2 separate regions of the Homo sapiens genome follow, and region 2 is linked to region 1. The links are contacts of gene promoters, found by promoter capture Hi-C in blood cells and fetal thymus (Javierre and others, 2016). All regions are on one chromosome and are shown on one strand. The core of a region is centred on a gene start or on the middle of the fragment in contact, and the rest is flanking DNA. Distances in the headings are between cores, read along the strand shown.

What was found. The method cuts DNA at HindIII sites, captures the fragments that hold promoters and counts their contacts. A CHiCAGO score of 5 or more calls a contact.
Region 2: a contact is called between a fragment that was not itself captured here and the fragment with the promoter of SLC30A1 in region 1, in 1 of 17 cell types (M2 macrophages). The highest score is 5.0, in M2 macrophages.

The regions. Positions count from the first base shown.
Region 1 is chr1:211,577,020-211,581,085 of GRCh38, reverse strand. It overlaps SLC30A1 (solute carrier family 30 member 1), which reads left to right and starts at 1,925. Exons shown (of 2, transcript NM_021194.3): 1 at 1,925-3,095. The coding sequence starts at 2,474. RefSeq lists silencers at 1,336-1,895, 2,136-2,445, 2,946-3,295 and enhancers at 1,752-2,251, 2,252-2,753, 2,726-2,835. The HindIII fragment of the contact is 24,351 bases long and covers 1-4,066 here.
Region 2 is chr1:211,316,313-211,320,378 of GRCh38, reverse strand. It overlaps RCOR3 (REST corepressor 3), which reads right to left. Exons shown (of 12, transcript NM_001136223.3): 12 at 3,994-4,066. Among named protein-coding and RNA genes, the nearest start is that of TRAF5, 8.5 kb to the left of the region's middle. The HindIII fragment of the contact is 3,259 bases long and covers 787-4,045 here.

The DNA of each region.
Region 1 (4,066 bases), core at 676-3,175:
CCATTTCCATGAGGATATCTTGACCCATAAGTGGCTTCCGAATTTCTGTATATGAGGGGCTAGTTGATAGGATGTTTGAAGCTGTGTTTACAGATGATCAGAAAACTGTCACTCATCCATATCAAAGGAGAGGAAGTTATGGAAGTCCTAAACCCATTAATCCACCCTTTAGCACTGCCCAAACCCAGACTTCACTTCAAATTAAGCACATTAAAAATGGAGTTCATATTTTCTCCTAAAAATCAGCTTCTTGGCCTCCCTTCCCAACTTCCTCACCTGTTTAAGGCAGTATTTTCCTTGTCAGGTTAGAAACATTATAACTATCTTTGTTCTCCTACCTAGCTTCCTCCTTCCCAATACCCAATTAATCATCAAATTCTATCATTTTTTCCTTAATAATGTCTTGAAAATTTTCCTCCATTCTTTATATTCCAGCAAAACAGAAACAGAAGGTGAGGATCCAGCTCTCCAGTCTGGATGGGGAGACTAGAAACACACTACATACAAGTGAAAAAAATTTCATAGGAATTACAAGAATACCAAAACAATGCAAAATAACAGCTCCAAACAAGCCTTGTATACACATCTCCAGGCAATAGCTGGCACTGCATTTGTCCAGTAGTAATCTAGGGCAGTGGGTGGGGAGGTCCTTCTGCTGCGCAGGGGCTGTGGTGAGGCCTTTCAGGTCCAGCTTAAGCCACTCTGATTCCAGCCACCACCCCACCTTAGATGGGCAAGCTGTTCCTTTCCAGATCAACTCATCTCCACCCACAACACAGTGCTTATGTATTCAGTCTAAAATAGCACAATTTATCAAGAGTATTCCATCGTAATTTTAAAATGTCGTGTTTATATTTTACCTCCACCTGGACAGAAACTCGTTCCTTTGTATTCTTACTGCCCCTCCACCTCCCCATAGCAACCAGCACAAGATTCCACCGTGTGTAGTCTATAAATAAATGTTAAATCATAGAGCCTTAGAATTTTGGAGTCAGACGGGGATCTTCAGAGTTGCATTTGTCCAGTCCTTTATAGATGGGGAAACAGGTCTAGAGAGATTAGGTGACTTGCTCAAAGCCACACAGCTGGCTATTGACAAGGCAAGGAGCAGAGCCCAGGTTTCTCCTGCCTGAAGTCTGTACCCTGAACTGTCCTTAGATAATCAGTGACAGACACCTGAGTTCACACAAGGTCTCCAGGGGTTGATGGTGATAGGAGAAACTGGCTTTCCCAAAACATGTACAAAGATTCGGTCCACGCCCCTAGCAGACCTTCGGGAGGACTAACTCCTCAGCTCGGCGTCCAGCAGAGTCCCAAGTTACAGTCGCACTTGTTTATGCGTCTGTCGGCCTCCTCCGACAGGACCGAGTACTCGAGGGCCCCGCGCTCAGGGGCTCCCCTCCGGCCCCTCCCCCGCCGCCGAGCTGTCACACAGCCGCCGCGCGGCCCGCCCCCACGTGGACTGGGCTCGGAGGATCAAAGTCTGTTTGCAGACTTTGCAGCCCGGCCCCCGCAGGTGTGCTGGGAGTTGCGATGGTCCGCAGGCCAGGACTCCGCCACACCCGAGGGGACCCGGCCAGCCCCTCCCCCTCCCGCTGCACGCGGCCCGCGCCCCCAATTCGCCCGCCGCTGCACCCGGCCACGGCCCCCCGGCCCACGCCCGGCTCCGGGAGGAAAAGGCCCCGCCCCTATCTGTTGGAGCCGCGACCCCGCCCCCTTCCCGCCCCTCCGAGGCTCCATCCAATAGTGAGCGTGGCTGGGCGGGACGCCGAGGCTGTCGTGAGGGGGTCCTGACCAATGGGGAAGCGTGCCGGGCCTGGTGGGCGGGGCGGCAAGGCCTTGTCACGCTCGGGTCCGTGTGAAAACGGGGGTTCCGAGTGCAAAGCAAAGTTTTTTTGTAAACCGTCTGCAAAGGCGGGGGGGCGAAGAAGGCGCCCGAGACCGGGCCGAGTGCAGCTGCCGTGGCCGCCGCCTCTCTAGCTCCTCAGCCATCCGCTCCTCAGTCCAGCCGCCGCAGAGGAGACCAGCAAGCAGAGCCCTCAGATGCTCGGAGCTTTCTCGGCGCGAAGCTGCCCGTCGCCCTCTCCTGCCGCCCTCGCCCGCCGCCCTCCTGCTCCTGCTCCGGCTGCGGCTCTTGGTACCCCGGCTCCGGGAGCCCAGCTCCCCGCCACCGCCGCCGCCTGGGTGTGGGGGCTGCTGAGGCTGAGCCGGGCCTCGGCGCCGGCTCTGAGGACGGACGCCTGAGGAGCTGCGCGGCGCGGCGCCGCCGGCTGGCGGAGAACGCCCACAGGCGCGGGGCTCGGCGGCTTGACCCGGGCTTGTCCCCGTGCGGCCGCGGGGGCCCCTCAGCGGTTTCCCGAACGGCCCGACTCGGGCGCTCCTCCGTGTCGCGGTCGCCGACCCTCCGCGTCCCGCCAACGCCGCCGCTGCACCAGTCTCCGGGCCGGGCTCGGCGGGCCCCGCAGCCGCAGCCATGGGGTGTTGGGGTCGGAACCGGGGCCGGCTGCTGTGCATGCTGGCGCTGACCTTCATGTTCATGGTGCTGGAGGTGGTGGTGAGCCGGGTGACCTCGTCGCTGGCGATGCTCTCCGACTCCTTCCACATGCTGTCGGACGTGCTGGCGCTGGTGGTGGCGCTGGTGGCCGAGCGCTTCGCCCGGCGGACCCACGCCACCCAGAAGAACACGTTCGGCTGGATCCGAGCCGAGGTAATGGGGGCTCTGGTGAACGCCATCTTCCTGACTGGCCTCTGTTTCGCCATCCTGCTGGAGGCCATCGAGCGCTTCATCGAGCCGCACGAGATGCAGCAGCCGCTGGTGGTCCTTGGGGTCGGCGTGGCCGGGCTGCTGGTCAACGTGCTGGGGCTCTGCCTCTTCCACCATCACAGCGGCTTCAGCCAGGACTCCGGCCACGGCCACTCGCACGGGGGTCACGGCCACGGCCACGGCCTCCCCAAGGGGCCTCGCGTTAAGAGCACCCGCCCCGGGAGCAGCGACATCAACGTGGCCCCGGGCGAGCAGGGTCCCGACCAGGAGGAGACCAACACCCTGGTGGCCAATACCAGCAACTCCAACGGGCTGAAATTGGACCCCGCAGGTGAGCCGGGAAAGTCGCTGCCGCAGGTGGTTGGGTTTGGGGTGCCCAGAGCCTCGCCTGGCCTTCGGCGGGGTGGCCCGCACGCCCCCTGCTGCCCGAGCGGGCCTGCGCCGCGCCGCCCCTGCCTGCTCCCTCCCCGTCCTGCACACGCCCCGCTGCTGCTCCAGGAAATCAGAACCCCCTCAGTCGGGTGCAAGGAGCCGGCGACGCGTCTGGCATATTTGTAGGTGGGGGCTGTGGGTCAGACCCTAAGAAAAAGGGTCAGGAGGTGATCATCATCCCGCTGCAGTCCACACCCGCACTTGGCTGTCTTTACAGGCTGCAGCAACTTTGCTGGAGACTTGTCTGGTTATGGTTATAACAGCGTCAGAAATGCTTCCCAATTCAATTCCTTGGCCCTCTTGGGAAACGGAGAGAATCCCCAATTCGTCCCCAGTAGTTGGGTGCTGGAAACCTTGCTCTGCCAAAGTAGTTCTTATGCCCATTGAACTCCGTTTCATAATATGCATTCAGAGCGTGTAAACCCTGGTTAAAGGTTTCTTTTATGAACAGCAGTGTATGCTTCAGCTAATTGATCCCTAATCCTGGAAATCATAGATTTAGGACCTGTCTGGGCATGTTTAACATTTTCCCAGGACTTTTCATAATCGTACTGAACTAAAAGTGATGGTAATTTATTCATCTTATATTTTTAGTGGATGCTTTTTATATTTAACATTAAGTGCTCTTGAAGGAAATTTGAAAATAAATGTTGAAAGAAAGGAGATGGAAATGACTCAACCAGTGTCCTACTACCCAAGCTCAATGGTGCTTAACAATTTGGTCTTATTTCCTTCACTTACGTTTATTTACCTTGTATCATTATAAATTATGCTACATAATTTTCCTTTTCGAGTGCAGAATATGAAGTTAGTGAAATTCAAGTTGTACATTGGAAAGGTTTAATAAGTAATTGGTTTTCCTCTCACTCC
Region 2 (4,066 bases), core at 1,167-3,666, 260 kb after region 1:
TTTTTTTTTGCATGCAGATATTCTATCACTTCTGCCATTGAATTACACTGACACTTTCATTGAAAATTAGTTGATCACATATGGATGAGTCTATTTCTGGACTCTATTTTGTTCCATTGATCTATATGTCCATCATTACACCAATATTACAATCTTGATTATTGCATCTTTATAACAAATATGGAAATCAGTTAGTGCCAATCACCCAATTTTGTTCTTCTTCAAAATTGTTTTGTCTATTTTAAGTTAGGAGTTGCTGCCTGTTTTTGTAAATAAAGTTTTATTGACACATAGCTATATCTGTCCATTTATGTATTTTCTCTGGCTGTTTTTGAACTAAAATGGTAGAGGCCAGGAGTTGCAACAGTTTGTGGACCACAAAGCCTAATATATTTACTATTTGGCTATTTATAGAAAAAGTTTACTGGCCCCTGTTCTAGGTCCTTTGCATTACCATATAAATTTCAAAATCAGTTTGCCAGTCTGTGCAAAATAAGCCTGCTAGGATTTTTATAAGAATTAGATTGAATCTATAAATCAGTTTGAGGAGAAATGCCATTTTAACAATATCAATCTTCCAATCCATGAACAGTTAGTTATTTAGGTCTTATTTCTCTCAGCAATATAGTTTTTCATGGACAAGTCTTGCACATTTTTGTTTATTCCTATTTTTTGATACTATCATGAATAAAATTTTCTTAATTCCATTCTCAGATCACTTGTTGCCATTATATGAAAATACAATTGATTGTACATTGATCTTGTATCCTCTGATTTTCTTAAGCTTGCTTACTATTCTAGTTTTTGCAGGTTTCTTGGGATTTTTTACATACAATTTCATGTCATCTGCACATAAAAACAATTTTAGTTTTTCCTTTCCAATCTCTATACTTTTTTCTTGCCTATTGCACTGGCTATAACCTTCAGTAAACCACTGAATAGAGTTGTGAGTGCAGACATCCTTGCCTTGATTTCCATCCTGAGGGGAAGCATTCCTAGTTTTCTAAGTTTTAATCATGAATAGGTGTTGGATTTTGTCAAATATCTTTTCTGTGTCTATCAACATAATCATATGGCTTTTTTCCTTTATTTTATTAATATGATATATTGCAATGATTCTCAACTGGAGGTGATTTTGCTCCTTATGGGACATTTGACCATGTCTGGAGACATTTTTGATTCTCAAACTGGGGAAGGGGGTTCTACTGGTATCTGGTGGGTAGAGGCTGAGGATGCTGTTCAACATTCTAAATGCACAAAAAAGAATTATCTAACCTAAAATGTCAGTAGTGCTGATATTGAGCAATATTTCATGTGCACATGGAAACAATGTTTATTCTGCTGTTGGGTAGAATGATCCCACATTTCAACTAGGTAAAGGTGTGTTATTCAAGTCATAGGCTGCAATCAAGCTGTTAGCTGGGTTCTGGTCATCTCAAGACCCAACTGGGGAAGGATCCATTTTCAAGTGCACATGGATGTTGGCAGGATTCAGTTCCTGGCAGGTTGTTGAACTGAAGGCCTGAGTTCTTTGCTGGCTGTTAGCAAAAGGCTGGCTTCAGCTCTTTGTCACATTAGAGGTTCCTTAATTCTGCTGGCTTTTGTCATAAATGTATCCCCATCTGCTGGTAGCTCCTCCTCTGGCTTCCTAGCACTGCTAAGGGTTATTTTGGTTTTTCTATTTCTTGTCATTTCAGTAAGACTGGCAGGGGGAGATTATGGGTAAGAAAAGTAAAAGACTATGTCCAGTCTGTCATCTTGAACTGAAATTAATCTCTCATTTTTGCACTGCACTTTAATTTTTTTAAAAAAATGAGCTGAGATTGCGCCATTGCACTCCAGCCTGGGTGACAGAACGAGACTCTGTCCAAAAAAAAAAAAAAAAGTCACAATACATTTCCCTTATTAAGAAGGGTATGGTATAAGTAGACATGTAAAAACCTCTAACATACATTGGGCAGGTACTATATGCCCCAGTTTATATATTCCTCCCCAAATGAGGAAAATGAGGCTCACAGAGATTAAGTAACTTGCTTAGTGGAGTTGGAAAACTCATTGTGTTAAAGGTTGGTGGGCAATTATTTTGCAAATATAGGCCACAAGCCCTCAATGATTCTGATTATTTTCAAACTCTTTTGGAAAAGATGAAGAGGCAGGATATCAACAAAATGGTCTTTGGATTAAAGGCCTCTTCAAGCCAAATCCTGTCAAATAAGAAAGCTGTTCCAGGTAGTAAACTAGACAGATCCCTCAAGAGATACCTTGTGTTGTGGTATTATTCAGCATCTTCTTAGTTATTGGTAACTGTACCTTACAAATAAGATTAAATTGTACAGAATAAAAATTTCACCTTTCTTAAAATAGTCCAAGGGAAGGAAACATATGAAGCATTCTGTGACATCAACTTTGACCTCATTTACATTGTGAAGACTGTTCTTAGATCTCTCCACTTCACATCACCAGCATTTTTTCCTTAGAGACCCTGCTCACCCAGATTCCTGCTTTAGGATTCTAAAGTTTAGATTACTGCATTGTAAAGACTGTTCCGTTTATTAATAAACAATTGTCTACTTTAAACCAAGTAATGACAATTGGCAAACATCTCAACCCAATATTAACTTCTGATCTTCACTGTTTCTCCCTTAGCTATATAGACTTAGGAGAGCAAAAAAGGGCAGATAAAGCCACATGGCCCTTTAGACACAAACTCACACATCTAGGAGCATTCCTTGTCATGTTTAATTCTCAAACTCCATTGTCACTAATATACTGCTGCAGAACATTCCTTCCCTAAGGCAGTTATGATAAAGAAGTTGTGGGGAGTTACACATGACCTACTCTTTCCTAGGTGAAAACAGTTCAGGTACTACCATAAATCAGATGTCAAAAGTTTCTTGTAGGCATTTTCTAATATGGAATGGTTTCTCAAACTTGATTCTTGGGTTCTTTCCGTATTCATTTATTCTGTTATTTTCTTATAAACGATGTAATCTATAATGAATGGCTAAATTTAAAAACACTTTTTTTCTTGTGTGTCCTCTAATAAGAATGTATTTGTCATTTATTTTGGGCATGCACAAAGAGAAAGATAGATTCTTCTTAGAGTTCGAAGTCAGATTACTATTCTTTTTGAGGAGATCCTGACACCCCAGTGTTAACTAGTTAGCAGTTATTAATGTTCATAAATAACCTTTTGATAACAGGAGGGAACATAAAATTAATACAACATACTTAATAACTAAACTAGGTACTTTAACCCAAGTACAGTCATGCACCACACAATATTTCGGTCAGTGACTGCAAATACACTGATGTTCTTTAAAATTATAACATCAGCAGGAAGCAGTGGCTCATACCTGTAATCCCAGCACTTTGGGAGGCCAAGACAGGTGGATCACCTGAGACCAGGACTTCAAGATCAGCCCGACCAACACGGTGGAACCCCATCTCTACTAAAAAATACAAAACTTAGCCAGGTGTGGTGGCGGGCGCCTGTAATCCCAGACACTCAGGAGGCTGAGACAGGAGAACTGCTTGAGCCTGGGAGGCAAAGGTTGCTGAGCCAAGATCCCGCCACTGCACTCCAGCCTGTGCGACAGAGTGAGAACCTGTCTCAAAAAATAAATATATAAAATATTGTATTTTTACTATACCTTTTCTATGTTTAGATACACAGATATTACCACTGTGTTATAACTGCCTATGATATTCAGTACAGTATATTACTGTACAGCATAGGACTGTTGCCTAGGAGCAAAGGCTATACCATATAGCCTAGGTGTGTAGTAGACTTTGCCACCAATGTTGGTACAAGTACAATCTGATTCACAGCACAAAAGAATCACCTAACAGCACCTTTCTCAGACCATATCCCCGTTGTTAAGGGCATGACTGTACTTGCAATTTTTAATATTCTTAAAAATGATAGTCACGTTCTTGGCTTGCTCTCTACATCTATTCCTAAAAAGAATGTAGGCCTACATTAAGACAAAATTTTATATTATTTCACCTTTATTTTATATTCTATTTTACTCAATTGCAAGCTTATTAAGAACATAAAAAGTTT